Regions from separate parts of the Homo sapiens genome. Here regions 1 and 3 are each linked to region 2. Evidence: promoter capture Hi-C in 16 types of primary human blood cells and fetal thymus (Javierre and others, 2016). All regions are on one chromosome and are shown on one strand. The core of a region is centred on a gene start or on the middle of the fragment in contact, and the rest is flanking DNA. Distances in the headings are between cores, read along the strand shown.

Region 1 (4,694 bases), core at 1,601-4,100, 110 kb after region 2:
TGATTTGCCTCACCTGGGGATCCCATTGACTTCCCTTGTGGCCTCCAGGTTATTAAAGGAGCAGAGGTGGGTTGGGGTGGGTTGAGGGTCCTCTCAGGAGTGTGGCCTGACCCCTGCATGGGCCTGGAACCCTCCATGTCTTCCCAGCCTTCCTTTGTCCCTGGAGGAATTTGAGCACGGTGCCAGGGCAGATCTGGGACCACAGGATTGCAGAACAGAATGTGGAGACCCAGGCTTGTCCCCTCTTCCCAGTCCCATCTTGGGCTCTGCAGTCCCCTGTGAGGGACAGGAGAGGACTCCCTGGTGCCCGTGCTGGTCTGTGATTTTCTACGTCTTCAGGTGAACAGTGCTGACCAGGAGATGCCTGAGTTGCCAGACTCAGCTGCCTTGACTTTTCCAGGACCTGGGGTGTTCCTCTGTGGGGAGCTGTCTTTGCAGTCCCCAGGCCTCCCCTCCTCAGCACACATCATGCCCTCTGTTTACAGAAAAAACATACCACCTGATCTGTGTGGCTTTTTAGTACCTGACAAATTGATCACTATTTGGAGAAGAGAAGACAGGTTTGAGGGTAAGTGGACAGACGTAGTGACAGAGAAGGGGAGGGAGTAGGGATGTAACTGAGGCAAAAATTTTGAAGGCTCAGGACACCCCCTGACCTGGGACAATAGGGAGAAATGCTGGACTGAGTTGCAGCACCTGGGGTCGCTGCCTCTGTGGACCTGTGAATTGGGTCGACTGAGATATGGCAACATTCCAAGATTTAAAATGTGAATGCAGTGAATCAGGCAGAGCAGTGGGTGTGCAGGAGGCTGTGCCAGCTGCCGTCTGAAAGACATATATTTCTAGCAGGCAGGGATGACACTCACTTGAGATCCTTTCCCATTTGAAAAGCATTAAAAAATCATAACCTGCAGGTCCAGAGGGTGAGCACTCTGACTTAACAACCCTTTTACTTTCTTTTGCAAAGCATTGAAGTCATTAACTTCCAGCAAGCAGGAAAAGCAGGTTCTTACTTAACTCTTATCTTCTGAAAAGCCTTAAAAATCAGCAGCCGTGAGACCCTGTCTCTCTTTGGCAGTGTTAAATCATAATGCGCCATATTGTGGCTAAGTAACGGAGCCATTCTGTCAGAGTGTAATTTAAGGAAAATTGGACCTAGTGACATGTCCTCCACTCAGAAAACTGTGGTGACTCCACACTGTTTATCAGATATGATCCAAACCTTTTTGGCATGAGTTTTTGCTGCCCTTTCACTATCTTCACCTAACCATGCATTTCCTGCTACCCACTGGATGAGGTTTGTACTTCATCTATGCCAGTTGACTCCCCATATTATTTCCTCCCCTCACTGATACTTATTTGTCCTATTCTTCCCTCTGTCTAAGGCTCCCCATATGGACTCTGCACCCAACACATAACATTGGTATTTTTAATAACATCCAGCATTTGTGTATCCCTTAGGCTATCCAACCTCACTCTCCACATCTCTTTGAAGGTTCAACTTTTTGAATTTCACTCCTCTTATCTCTTTAATCACTATCCCATTGCTTAAGTATTTATGCATTGCATATTGGCTAATTGTATCCAACTTTGCATTTACACTTAGGAGGGTACATATGTCATGTATTCCTCCACTAGATTATCCATTCCCTAGATTTATTATTTTCTTCCCATTTATTCACCTATGTGCAGATACCCAGGTAAGTGACAGCACATCAGTTAGTCAGTCATCATCTGTTTATTGAGTATTGAATATTGATGTGCCAGGCATTGTACTGTGCTAGAGGTATGCACATGGTCCTTAGACTGTAGCAGCATACAGAGTAACATCAAATGACTAAATGAATTATTATTGGTGAGCAAAGGGCCTCAAGGTAGGACAGATACTTTGGGAATACATGGGGGCCTGTTGGAAACCTTTTCCTGAAAAAGTGATGTTTAAACTATGACCAGTAGGGGTCAGTAGGAGTTAGGAGCTAGGCAAAGAGCTGGTGAGCAAAGCATCCCACCTGCCCAGGCTGTCACGTGGAGAGGGCACAAAAAGTGTGCAGGAAAAGTAGTGTGGAGTAGTGTGCAGTAAAAGATCAACTCAGCAGGCCTGGATTGCCCAAACCCTGCACATTCCAAGGGTCGTTGAGACTGCCCTTGATTAGCTTCTGAGACCTCTGAATTCTTGAAATATCCTGCATGGTAAGAGTGTCTTTGTATACCTGAGACCATGAGCCAGGCCAGATGATTTCTGCTAACAATGTGACTTATGGTGAGCACCTGTTTGTATATGCCTAGGCTGCTTCGGGCCATATTGTTTCAGTCTGACCTGTGTTGGGGCTGGAGACTGAGTTATGTGAATGCTGCATGTCTACGTGACTGACCCCCTGCTACCTCAACAAAACAAAACTAAACTAAACTAAACTAAATAAACTAAACTAAACTAAACTAAAAACAAATGCTGGACATCAAGGCTCAGGTGAACATCCTTGGTTGGCCATATTTTGTATGTGCTGTCATACATTGTTGCTGGAAGAATTAAGCACTGTCCATGTGACTTTACTGGGAAAGGACAACTGGAGGCTTGTGCCTAGTTTCCTCTGAACTCTGCTGTATGTACCTTTCTTTCTTTCTTTTTTTGAGACGGAGTCTCGCTCTGTCGCCCAGGCAGGAGGGCAGTAGTGCAGTGGTGTGATCTTGGCTCACTGCAACCTCCACCTCAGGGGTTCAAGAGATTCTCCTGCCTCAGCCTCCCGAGTAGCTGGGACTATAGGCATGTGCCACCACCCTGGCTAATGTTTTTATATTTTTAGTAGAGATGGGGTTTCACCGTGTTAGCCAGGATGGTCTCGATCTCCTGACCTCGTGATCCACCTGCCTCAGCCTCCCAAAGTGCTGGGATTACAGGTGTGAGCCACTGTACCCAGCCCGTACGTTTCTTTTTTGTTGATTTTAACCCACTTCCTTTCATTGTAATATACTATAATCGAGAGTATATCAAGACAGGGTAATATTTTGAGAGGAAAGAAAAGAGTATAATAGCTTTTTTGAGTTCTGTGAGTCCTTCTAGCAAAACATCCAACCTGAGAGTGGTTCTGCAGACCACCAACACAGGCAGAGAGAAGAGAACAAAGCCTGTGGGAGAGAGGAGTATATAAGGTGAGGAAGGAGATGAAGAAAATGATTGGATTCCTTAGGTCCTTACAGGTCGTGGTCAAGAACGGCATGGTTCTGCCTGTAGGCTTGATACCAGTGTGGCTACTTTAATTCTATTCCATGGCTCTAGGCTGCACCCAGCCCCAGCTAGATCTCAGGAAGTGTACCTATGGAAAACATGCAAATCAGTGAATTTCACTGGGGTGGGGGAGCCCAAGGGCACACAAAATCTAGTGAAGAAGATAAGTGGTGTCACCTGTGGGATGGTGCATGGATTAATGTTTCCCATGGGGTCCCTTTGAGTTTGGAGTAGAGTCGCTAACGCTCAATGTATATTATTAAAGAAGATTCATTGGTGTGTTTACTGTAAAAGTGAGGACTGGCCAGGTGCGGTGGTTCACGCCTGTAATCCCAGCACTTTGGGAGGCTGAGGCAGGCGGATCATGAGGTCAGGAGATCAAGATCATCCTGGCTAACACGGTGAAACCCCATCTCTACTAAAAATACAAAAAATTAGCTGGGCGTGGTGGTGGGTGCCTGTAGTCCCAGCTACTCGGGAGGCTGAGCCAGGAGAATCACTTGAACCCAGGAGGCGGATGTTGCAGTGAGCCAAGATTGTGCCACTGCACTCCGGCCTGGGCGACAGGGTGAGACTTCATCTCAAAAAAGAAAAATAAAAACAATAATAATTTAAAAAGTGAGGACTGAGCTCTGATTTTTTTTTATCTTGCCCAAATTCCTATCTAAGGGGCCTGGGGACTCATGACCTTCAAACCACAAATTCTCATCAGATGGGTTATATTTAACCCTATATATTGTGACTTACTTTCCAATGTGACTCTGGCATAACATGATGTGACAAAGAAGAAGGTCAAACTATTTTACCCCAAAAGCATGTTTCTTTGCCATATTTTGAAATGGTCTTGCAAAGCTGTCCTTTGTGGGGGGACGTGTGCATCTGTAAAGAATCTCTATTAACACAGCTAGATCTTTTTCTTCCAGGCCCCCCAATCCTGAAGAGATTAAGTAAGAATCTAGTACGTTTTAAAGGCCTGAATAGGAACCATTTGTCATCTATTATCTCTAAGAGCAGCCACTATAAGATTTCAAAAGAACCTTAGTATCCACAATCTTTTATCTTTTTTTTTTTTTTTCTGAGACGGAGTCTCACCCTGTTGCCCAGGCTGCAGTGCAATGGTGCCATCTCTGTTCACTGCAACCTCCACCTCCCATGTTCAAACAATTCTCCTGCCTCAGCCTCCCGAGTAGTTGGGATAACAGGCACATGCCACCACGCCCAGCTAATTTTTGTATTTTTAGTAGAGACGGGGTTTCGCCATGTTGGCCAGGCTGGTCTTCAACTCCTGACCTCGTGATCCGCCCACCTTGGTCTCCCAAAGTGCTGGATTACAGGCGTGAGCCACTGTGCCCGGTCCACAATCTTTTATCTTAACCTGAACATTTCCTTTCCATTGATCCCAGGTCTTTAGACAAACTCAACCAATTGTCAATCAGAAAATGTTTAAATTTACCTGTAGCCTGGAAGCCTC
Region 2 (4,526 bases), core at 555-3,054:
AGTCCCTTACACTGCACTCTGTCATTCCCTCCTTCCTGCCATAACTTTTTTAATTTTTCTTTGAGACAGAGTCTTGCATTGTTGCCTGGGCTGGAGTGATCTTGGCTCACTGCAATCTCCCCCTCCTGGCTTCAAGTGATTCTCCTGCCTGAGCCTCCTGAGTAGCTGGGATTACAGGTGCCTGCCACCACCCCCGGCTAATTTTTTGTATTTTTAGTAGAGACGGGGTTTCACTATGTCGGCCAGGCTGGTCTCGAACTCCTGACCTCGTGATCTGCCCACCTTGGCCTCCCAAAGTGCTGGGATTACAGGCATGAGCCACCGCGCCCAGCCCTTTCTGCCTCAACTTTGCACCTTTTCTTCAGAGAGTTACCCTGGGCTGAGAAAAGAATAGATTTTCAATTTGGACAGTTTTTTCTTGGCTTGTTTCCTCTTTGGTTACACGGATAGTAACTATGTCATGCAGATGTGCCTGGGAGAATGGGGTGAATACAGGAAGCACCTTATTCACAGTGGGCCGGTTACTTGTCTTCCCTTCTTTCTGAGCTGCAGGGAACGGGGTTCTAATGCCAAGGCTTAGTAAGGAAGGTTCCCACGAACAAAACAGCCCCTTCTCTCAGTCCCAAGCCTCCCAGGGACTGTGCTCCTCCTCTTCAGGCCTTCCCTTCTCCCTCTGATTAAGCCTTCAACACTTGGTGGGACTGGGCAGGGGACACAATTTTGTACTCTTGATCCCAAAGGAGATAAAGGCTGGGAAATCTAGGGAAGGAATGTGAAGCCTGTTGGAGTAAGTCCTTTTAAAAGCAGCAAGAAGTGACCTTGTCTCCCTCTTTCCATTCCCCCGGGGCTTGTGAATAGCCTTCAGTGCCCAAGTTGGAGTAAGAGCTTCAGAAAGACTGGCTGTGAGGGTTTGGAGAGAGGTTTGAGAAAGCAGCTCAGAGACTCACAGAGTCACACCAAGAGCTTAGCTAATCAGCTAATCAGCACTGGAGGAAGACAAATGTCCTTGGTCTGGTGGGACAGCTTCGTGAGGCTTGGAGCATGCAGCCTACCAAAGTGAGCTCAGTGCCAGCCCTGCAAGTTGGGAGGTAGAGAGGCCAAACCAAATTGGAAAAAATGACAAAACCCCTATGTACTTTCTAGAACAATACATACCAGCTAGGAAGTGTTAAAAGACAAGCTCCCCAAAGTCAGTTCCTTAGCTTTTGACTTATTCTAATGTAGGGCCTCCATTTTTAATAAACTCTCCCAGGTGATTCTTAGCTGCAGATTTGAGGCCCGCAATTTAAGAAACTGCTCTTGAGACTGCATAGACATCCTCAGGGCTGGAAGTTCTTTGTTGACCCGACCAGATTCTCTCCTGCTGTGGAACTGGTTTGTCCTGATCCTGCTGGCTTCTCTGCAGACTACACTCATCAGGGGTTGGCTTGGCGCCTCCTGGGCAATGGGGCAAGAGTAATCATAGCAACCTAGGTGAAGTCCCAGGGGAAAACTGTGACCCTGGGCCAGGCTCCTGGGGCCGCTGACAGTTAGAACCCCCTCGGCCCATAGTAAGTTCTTTAGGTTCGGGTTCTGACCGAAAAGTTTGGCCAAAGCCAAAGTGGAGAGCAGGGCACGCCAGGGCGGGTCAATCCTTCAGAGCCGCGGTTGGGCTGGAGCGTGGAGCTGCAACGGTTGGAGCGACGGGCTCCGGTTCCTAAGCCACCAGCACAAGGCAACTGCCCGCTGGAGGTGGGAGGGGCGGGGCCGGGGGCGGGGCCTGAGCCGAAGAACGCGGGCTAGTGGTTGCCAAGGTAACGCGTCAACACTAGGGCCTTGGCGGCGCCGAGGCGGCAGCAGAAGTCCGGAGTCAGGGCGTGTGGCTGAGGAGATGGTGAGGGAGAACCTCAGATGGGCCCCTTGTGTCCTGAATTGGGTGGGGGCTCTGAGTGGGGAAAGTGGGGGCCTAGGGGAGGTCACAGTTGGGTCTAGGGGTCAGGAGGGCCCAGGAGTAAGGAGAACACCTCTAGAAGAAGCAAGGGAGATCCTGAGGTGGGTTCAAAAGAGGAATTAGGGATAGCATCGATAACGATTGGAAATGTGGAGCGCGCTGAGCGGAGGAGTTGGGGAGAAAGGGATGCCCCAACCCTCTCCCCGTTGCCATTACAGCGGGGCCTCTGTGGACCAAAGATTGTGGATGTGGTGTGGGAAAAAGCACTGGTGGGCCGGGCGCGGTGGCTTACGCCTGTAATCCCAGCACTTTGGGAGGCAGAGGCGGGCGGATCATGAGGTCAGGAGATCGAGACCATCCTGGCTAACACAGTGAAACCCCGCCTCTACTAAAAATACAAAAAATTAGCCGGGCGTGGTGGCGGGCGCCTGTAGTCCCAGCTACTCGGGAGGCTGAGGCAGGAGAATGGCGTGAACCCGGGAGGCGGAGCTTGCAGTGAGCCGAGATCGCGCCACTGCACTCCAGCCTGGGCGACACAGCGAGACTCCGTCTCAAAAAAAAAAAAAAAAAAAAAAAGCACTGGTGAGGAGGCCAGATAATGGGTCGTGGTACCTGTTTTGCCACTAACTAGCAAGGTGACTGTGGGTAAGTCATCTAATGTGCCCGAGCCTCAGGTTTTTCTTCTGTTAGCAGGGCTTTGTATCCCTCAGTAGTTAGTCAATAAATATTTGGCAGTGAATGAATGAATGAATAAATGAGTGAGTGAGTGAGGAGGGTCTCAGGTTTGCAAGGCCCGGGAGAGAGATTGGGACAGGACTGGCAGCCTGGGGTTTGCTGGGATGGGGAGGGCTGTCAGGGTACTGAGGGCTGAGAAGGCCAGCAAAGCCTGGGAGGAACCATGAAGGGGATGCCTGGGCTTGAGTGTGTTGGTCCCAGAGGGGAGGGGAAGGGCAGATGATAAGTGTTGGAGTCTTGGGTTATTGGAACTGACCTAGAATGTCTGGGGCACAACAGGTGGCAAAGGTTGCTACTTGGATGTACTTGTGGACAGACTTCAGGCCCAGGGGCTGCATTGCTTTTCTGGGGCTCAGTGGACCTCAGAAGAATTTTGTTAATTATTAAATAAGTCTCCAACAAAGAGCAGTTCCTGACTTTCGAGGACTCCCTGCAGTGTTGTAATTGGGGTGGGGGAGCGTCCCCTTTCACTTATGTATTCTATTTGATTCAGTGTCCCATCTTCTCTCAGCACCTTACAAACACAGTGGCGTATGTATGTATGTGAACACCTACTGTCATGCCTGGTGTCTAAGGGCATATGGTAAATGTTAGTTCCCCTTTTGTCCTCTTTTAAAAATTTCCTATTTCCAAGCTCTCATAGGGCATAAGTTGCACCTGGGCAAGACCTGTGGGCTTCAGAGCACCCAGATCAGGGATTCCCCATCCAGGAGCCACTCAGGGCAGGGGTTTGACTCACTCACTGAGCCCCTCTGTAATTCCTGGGACAGGACTGGGCATATAGACACCTTTGAGAAGCAGTGGGTCTAAGTTAGTGATCTCTGGCAGGCCAGCTGTGTGTGTTCGTGTACGTATAGTGCTACTCACTAGGTTTGGAGAATATTTAAAGGCATGAGAAGAGATAGTAGTGGTGGTGAGGGTCACAATTAGGCAGACTTCCAGAACTCTTACAAAAATAATGATTAAAATCCTGCAGAAGGAGAGATGGGGACCTCAGTACTGACTAGGATGTTATCTTCTGGTGGCATCCTACAGATGGCCAACTTGGTCCCAATTGAAGAAAGAGGATAATTGCGTGGATCACTCAGAGTAAAAGGCAAGGGGTCTCGTGCATGGGAATCTCCCTTTCTTGGTAACCAAAGTCTACAGAAAGGGAAGTAGAACCAGGCCAAGAGTTTGAAGCCTGAATTTGCCAGCCTGCGGAGACTGTGCAAAAGAAGAACTAGATCTCAGAATGGGTAAGACATCTAGGAAAAGACATATCTTTCCTGAACATGTCAACCTGTTTAGTTGACAGGTGTTGAAGTTACATCAGGGAAACTTCACACTGACCTATTCTAGCCCCATTCCAGCTTTGTCTTGCTGAATTTGAGTGAAACATTCTGGATCCCAGAATATATAATGCTATGGTTTTTTTGTTTGTTTGTTTGTTTGTTTTCTTTTTTAGGTCTGTACTCTCTTGCTTTCAGAGTTCGGGCACCAGGCCCATTGCTATGCTTTGTTTTCAAATAAAAATTGTTTTATTGTTTTTTTTTTCTGGTCATAAAATTGGTATCTACTCATTGCAGGAAATTATTCAATAAAGAAACATCTTAAGATGGTAAAGGTTCCTGACATACTGTTAAACATTTTTTTGAACATGCTTTCAGTAATACATTCTGGGCACATACCTGCCATACAAACATCTTTACAAGAGTACTTCTACATTTCTTTTTCTTTTTGAGATGGAGTCTTGCTCTGTCGCCTAGGCTGGAGTGCAGTGGCGTGATCTCAGCTCACTGCAACCTCCACCTCCCAGGTTCAAGCGATTCTCCTGCCTCAGCCTCCTGAGTAGCTGGGACTACAGGCGTGTGCCACCATG
Region 3 (4,603 bases), core at 589-3,088, 94 kb after region 2:
CTCTCCCTGTGTCTTCTCTCTGGCTTTCCTCCCACCCACCCTCCTTGTCTTCTTTTATATTGCACTTTCCTGTCTGCCTTGCCAAGCTTGGCTTAATTGCATTCATTCTGTTCATTGTCTTGCCTCATTCCTCCTGACTCAATTCCCTCCAGCCTAGATTGGCTTCTCCTCCTGTGGCTACCTAATGTGACACTTTCTGCAGCCTTCACTTCTGATAATAGCAGCATCTGTGTCCACCAGAAAGCAGCTGGTGGGGCATGTTGGAGGTGCCACAGCCTGAGTTCTCTCCCTCCTGTCTTCCTCATTGGGCTTCCTTAGGCCCAGCCTCCATCTCTACCCTCAGCAGGGCGTTTCATCTTCCACCACTCTTATGGAAGGGATCTGTTCTCTCTGTCTCTATTCCTAAAATGTATTCTGTGCACTGATGTGAGCAGGAGAAGAGCTCCCAGGGATCCACCATCACCTGCAGGGCAGGCTGAGCCTGTCCCCAGTCTGTATCTGTCCCCAGCCTGTATCTGTCCCCAGCCTGTATCATCTCTTTGATAAGCCAGACACCCCCATTCCCAGACAGCCTTCTGAGCAGGCCTGATGGCCTGAGACTAATGAGGAGTAACAGTTAGGGAGCCCCAGCACATCCTGCTCTTGCCTGGATCTTCTGGATCCTTAGGACCCACTCTCCTCACCCTGGAAGTAACGATGCTCACCGCATTACCGAACAGCAGGTCTTGCTTCCACTACTGCTTTTTCTAACAGCACTAAGTATTGGTTTGAATTATCTCCCCCTGGAATCACAGAATATGTCCTTGGAGGTCAAGATTTCATAGATCAGAATTTTTTCCTGTTTGACAGAAAGCTCCATGGAGGTCAGTGTCACAGAATGGGCTGGAGGGAAGGGGATCTGAGGAAGGAAGGAAGACTGATCAGCAGAAAAAGGTGCCTGCTGCTTCTCTGAACATAAAAGGAAGGAAGGGAGTCCCAGTCTTGTTGAGTTGAGAATATAAGAGCTCCAGAACCACTTGAAGAGAAGACAGAGGCCACAGACACTTTTAAGGGTATAAGATAGAGGCCTAGAGTCCCACTGCTGAGGCTTGTGTCACCCTAGGACTACCCTTGGCCTTAGACTAGTGGAGTTCCAAGTTCCTCCTTTTCCTAGGAACTGGCCAAGACTCCTGAGGAAGGGGCCTAGTCTGGTGCTGCTCTGCAGATGTTTCTGGGGGACCCCATGGCACTGTCCTGTTCCCATCCAGTAAGTTTTGGCCCATAGACATACTTTGAATTAGAAGAGACATGGACACAACTTACCAGTTTTCCCAACACAGGGAACTGCAAGAGAACAAAGTAACACAATTAGGTTAAGTAGCAAAAAGAGCTTTCTGACAAGGAGGCCTGTCACTTCAGCAATGGGGACTTACACCCATTCAACCAACCACCCGGCCACCAAACCTCCTAGCCACCCATCCACACAGCCATCCAACCATCCAACCACATAACCACTCAACCACCAAACAACCCAGCCATCAGCCATCCAACCACCCAACCATCCAACCATCCAACCACCCAACCACCCAACCACCCGGCCACTTGACTACTCAACGTTTGTGCTGGACGTACTCCCTAGAACTCTTTGCCCTATCACAGTTCAAATGTTGCCTTCTCAAACAGGTCTTCCCTGGGACTCCAATCAAAAGAATTTTCCCCAATCACTAAAACAATGCCCCATTGTATTATCTTCAAAACACTTATCACTATTTGAATTTATCTTATTCATTAAATTGCCTACATGTTATCACCTCTCTCTCTGGCTAGAATATAAGCTCCATAGTAGCAGGGACTCTGCTTATTTTACTCATTGCTATATTTTCTATGCCCAAGACCTGTGCCTGGAACATAGTCTGTGTTCAGTAAGCATCTGCTGAATAAATGCATGAATGTTTTCCTTTGCATCCCATTGTACGAGGTGGGAAGCAAAAAGTAGAAAACATAGGACTAGACTCTTGTACGAATGTGCCTGAGGGTCCTACCTCCAACATCTACAGGAGAACCCATATAGCAAGGGCAGGACCTGATTCTTGTGGTCCCATCTCTCCACAGAGCTCTGGCAAAAAGGGTATGGAAGTGACCAGACTGAGGAGGATAAGTCCCCTGAAAGAGTAATCATTAAAGGATGTGAGACATTATCAGGCAGCATGGATGAATGAGAGAACTACAAACAAACTGGATGCATCCCACATCATGCTTGCATCTTGGATGTGCTACATTCATGTTTTTAAATGAGTGAATGTGTGAGAACAGGTGACCTGGGAAGAGGGGCCAACTCACAAAATGATGACAGATATGGTTAGATAGGTTTGAATAGCCCAAACAATGGAAGACCTGAAATTGAAGGTCATAGCTGGATATGAAGCAGTGAAGAATCTTCTGGACTTTGGGGCAAGGTGTGAAACAATGAATGAATGTAGGGCTGAGTGCAGTCAGTCCAGCCAATCCTCATACATTTACTTGTGTCCTGCATTGCTGGCATGTCCTAGGTATTTTACATAACACCAAAAAAAAAATGCAAGAATGGCCTTGGGAAGGGTGGGTGAAAACCCTCTAAGAGCAGATGTTTGGCTCTGTCACATGGTATCATCTTTGCTTTCTACACTACTTTGGACACAGGTGGAATCTTTCAGCTCAATTCTCTATTCAGCTCAGGGTCAGCTCAGTCATATGCTCTCAAGAGTGTGCAGAACAATGAGTCTCTTCTTTATCATCCCTCCATCTCCACCCCTAACCCCCATCTATGAGCTCGGTGTAGTGGAAAGCATGCAGGATTTGGAATCAGATGACCTGGACTTGAGTCATGAATTTGCCTCTTTCTGTACGACCTTGAACAAGTTGTCTAAGTTCCAAGAGCCTTCAATATCTCATTCTGTCATATCACATAATAGAAATGATAATAGTCATTTTTTTCTTACAGTGTAGTTGTGAAGGTTATGTTGACCCACTGCCTGGGAAAGTGGTTACTACATTAACTGAAAGCAGAAAGAAGGCCTGACCTCAGAGTGACAGAGACCTTACTCTGTAGTTATGTCTTCCTTCCCTTCCCCACCTCACTGGAAAACAATTGTGCAGCTACAAAGTGCTAAACAAACAGGGTTGAGACTACTGAAGCCAAAAACAAGACAGAAGGCACTCAGGAAGCATAGATGCACTTAAAATGAGCTCCTGTCCCCAAATCTCAATGACTTGCTCCCCATGGTACTGCAAGATCTTGGAGGTGGGATTACAAAATTGGTTTCTGCAATCAAAACAGCAGCCAACTGGGAACATACACAGGGGGTGACACCTGCTTACAGCAGTTCCTGCAATGAGGGCCCAGGGACCTCCATTAGCTATAGGCTGAAGATGAGGTGACAGTATCATGAAGTGGCCAAGAGCTATGGTCAAACCAAGTTGCGTAATAGAATTCCGAAAAATGAAGGCAGGAGCCCCTGCCAACTCTAGGAGCAGGATAATTTCCTCTTAAAGTTTCTGAGGGATCGGGAGATATTTATCTGGGAAAGATGCAACAGAGGAAAGACACAAAATACTTGGTGGGCTAAGCTTAAAAGAAGGGGGAGACTTATTCTGAGTTACTTTATAGGACAGAAATGGAAACTAGAGGGATCATGGAGGCAGATTTCGGCTCAACATGAAGAACTCTCTCACCACTGAGCTCTAGCACTGTGGAACAGGCTGCAGTGCCAAGCTGCAGCAGTCACATTGCTGGGAGGGCTGTATGGGACCCCATGACACCTCCTATGGACGCTGTGTGAGAATGCGGGGAGCAGCCTCCAGTGGTAGGAGGGAAGTTGGCTAATGTTCAGCTCAGAAGAAAATTAAGCCTAATTTCCCAAACTTTAAATACATATTTCACATTCAGCCAGGTCCCCACATGCTCAATGTCAGGATTCCTTTCCTCCCGGAGCCCTGACAGCCAATAATAGTAATAGCCACCAATTTATTATGACCACACCCTGCTCTTGAGAGAGGAAATAGCAGCTCTACACTTATGGTAAGATAAATGTTGCTACACACCCAGCCCCAGTGTCTGTGTTTTAGGCTGTTTTTCCAGGGTCCCTGAGCATCAAGTGGGACCAAATTTGCTGGTGCTGGATTCTCCATTACACTGTGCACCAGTCAGCCGGTCACTGATTCCCTTCCTCTCCTCATTTGCTGTCTGTCATCCTCGTCCTGGGTTCCAAGCTGGAACACTCTCAGACTGTATCTAGACAAGTCCAAGGGCTGTTCCTTTTACAAGGTAGTGCCGGTAGTGCCATTTGCCCCTGGGAGTCTTCTGCCTGGAGTATATCCAGGCATTAGGCTATCCTGTCCCCGCCTCAGTGTGAGCATTAGACCTTTTCATTTGTCCAAATGGCCATTCATAGAACACACGAGTAGCATGCTATGCTGGAGAAGGAACATTGAGTGGAAGGGGCATTTTCCTCACAGGGTCAAATTCTCACAAACTCTGTCCAGGAAGAGGTTATATTTAGGAACAGTTTTGCTTTTCTAGTTCAAGGAATACAAATAGCAAGCAAGCTATTGGGACCAAGAATTAAACAAAAAGTAGGTCCACTTG

Evidence for each region. The method cuts DNA at HindIII sites, captures the fragments that hold promoters and counts their contacts. A CHiCAGO score of 5 or more calls a contact.
Region 1: a fragment that was not itself captured here is called in contact with the fragment with the promoter of CFAP45 in region 2 in 17 of 17 cell types (naive CD8 T cells, total CD4 T cells, total CD8 T cells and 14 more); the score reaches 15.4 in naive CD8 T cells.
Region 3: a fragment that was not itself captured here is called in contact with the fragment with the promoter of CFAP45 in region 2 in 12 of 17 cell types (naive CD8 T cells, naive CD4 T cells, non-activated CD4 T cells and 9 more); the score reaches 9.7 in naive CD8 T cells.

Annotation. Positions count from the first base shown.
Region 1 is chr1:159,787,773-159,792,466 of GRCh38, reverse strand. No RefSeq gene overlaps it. Among named protein-coding and RNA genes, the nearest start is that of DUSP23, 9.2 kb to the right of the region's middle. RefSeq lists a cis regulatory region at 1,799-2,176. The HindIII fragment of the contact is 7,543 bases long and covers 1-4,694 here.
Region 2 is chr1:159,897,443-159,901,968 of GRCh38, reverse strand. It overlaps CFAP45 (cilia and flagella associated protein 45), which reads left to right and starts at 1,804. Exons shown (of 12, transcript NM_012337.3): 1 at 1,804-1,873. The coding sequence starts at 1,871. MIR4259 (microRNA 4259) reads left to right here and starts at 1,890; the gene lies at 1,890-1,990. It overlaps LOC124904435 (a long non-coding RNA gene), which reads right to left and starts at 1,719. Exons shown (of 3, transcript XR_007066679.1): 1 at 1,156-1,719. The HindIII fragment of the contact is 6,665 bases long and covers 1-4,526 here.
Region 3 is chr1:159,803,316-159,807,918 of GRCh38, reverse strand. FCRL6 (Fc receptor like 6) reads right to left here. Exons shown (of 10, transcript NM_001004310.3): 2 at 1,303-1,323. It overlaps LOC105371464 (a long non-coding RNA gene), which reads left to right and starts at 889. Exons shown (of 3, transcript XR_922195.2): 1 at 889-4,603. The HindIII fragment of the contact is 3,499 bases long and covers 89-3,587 here.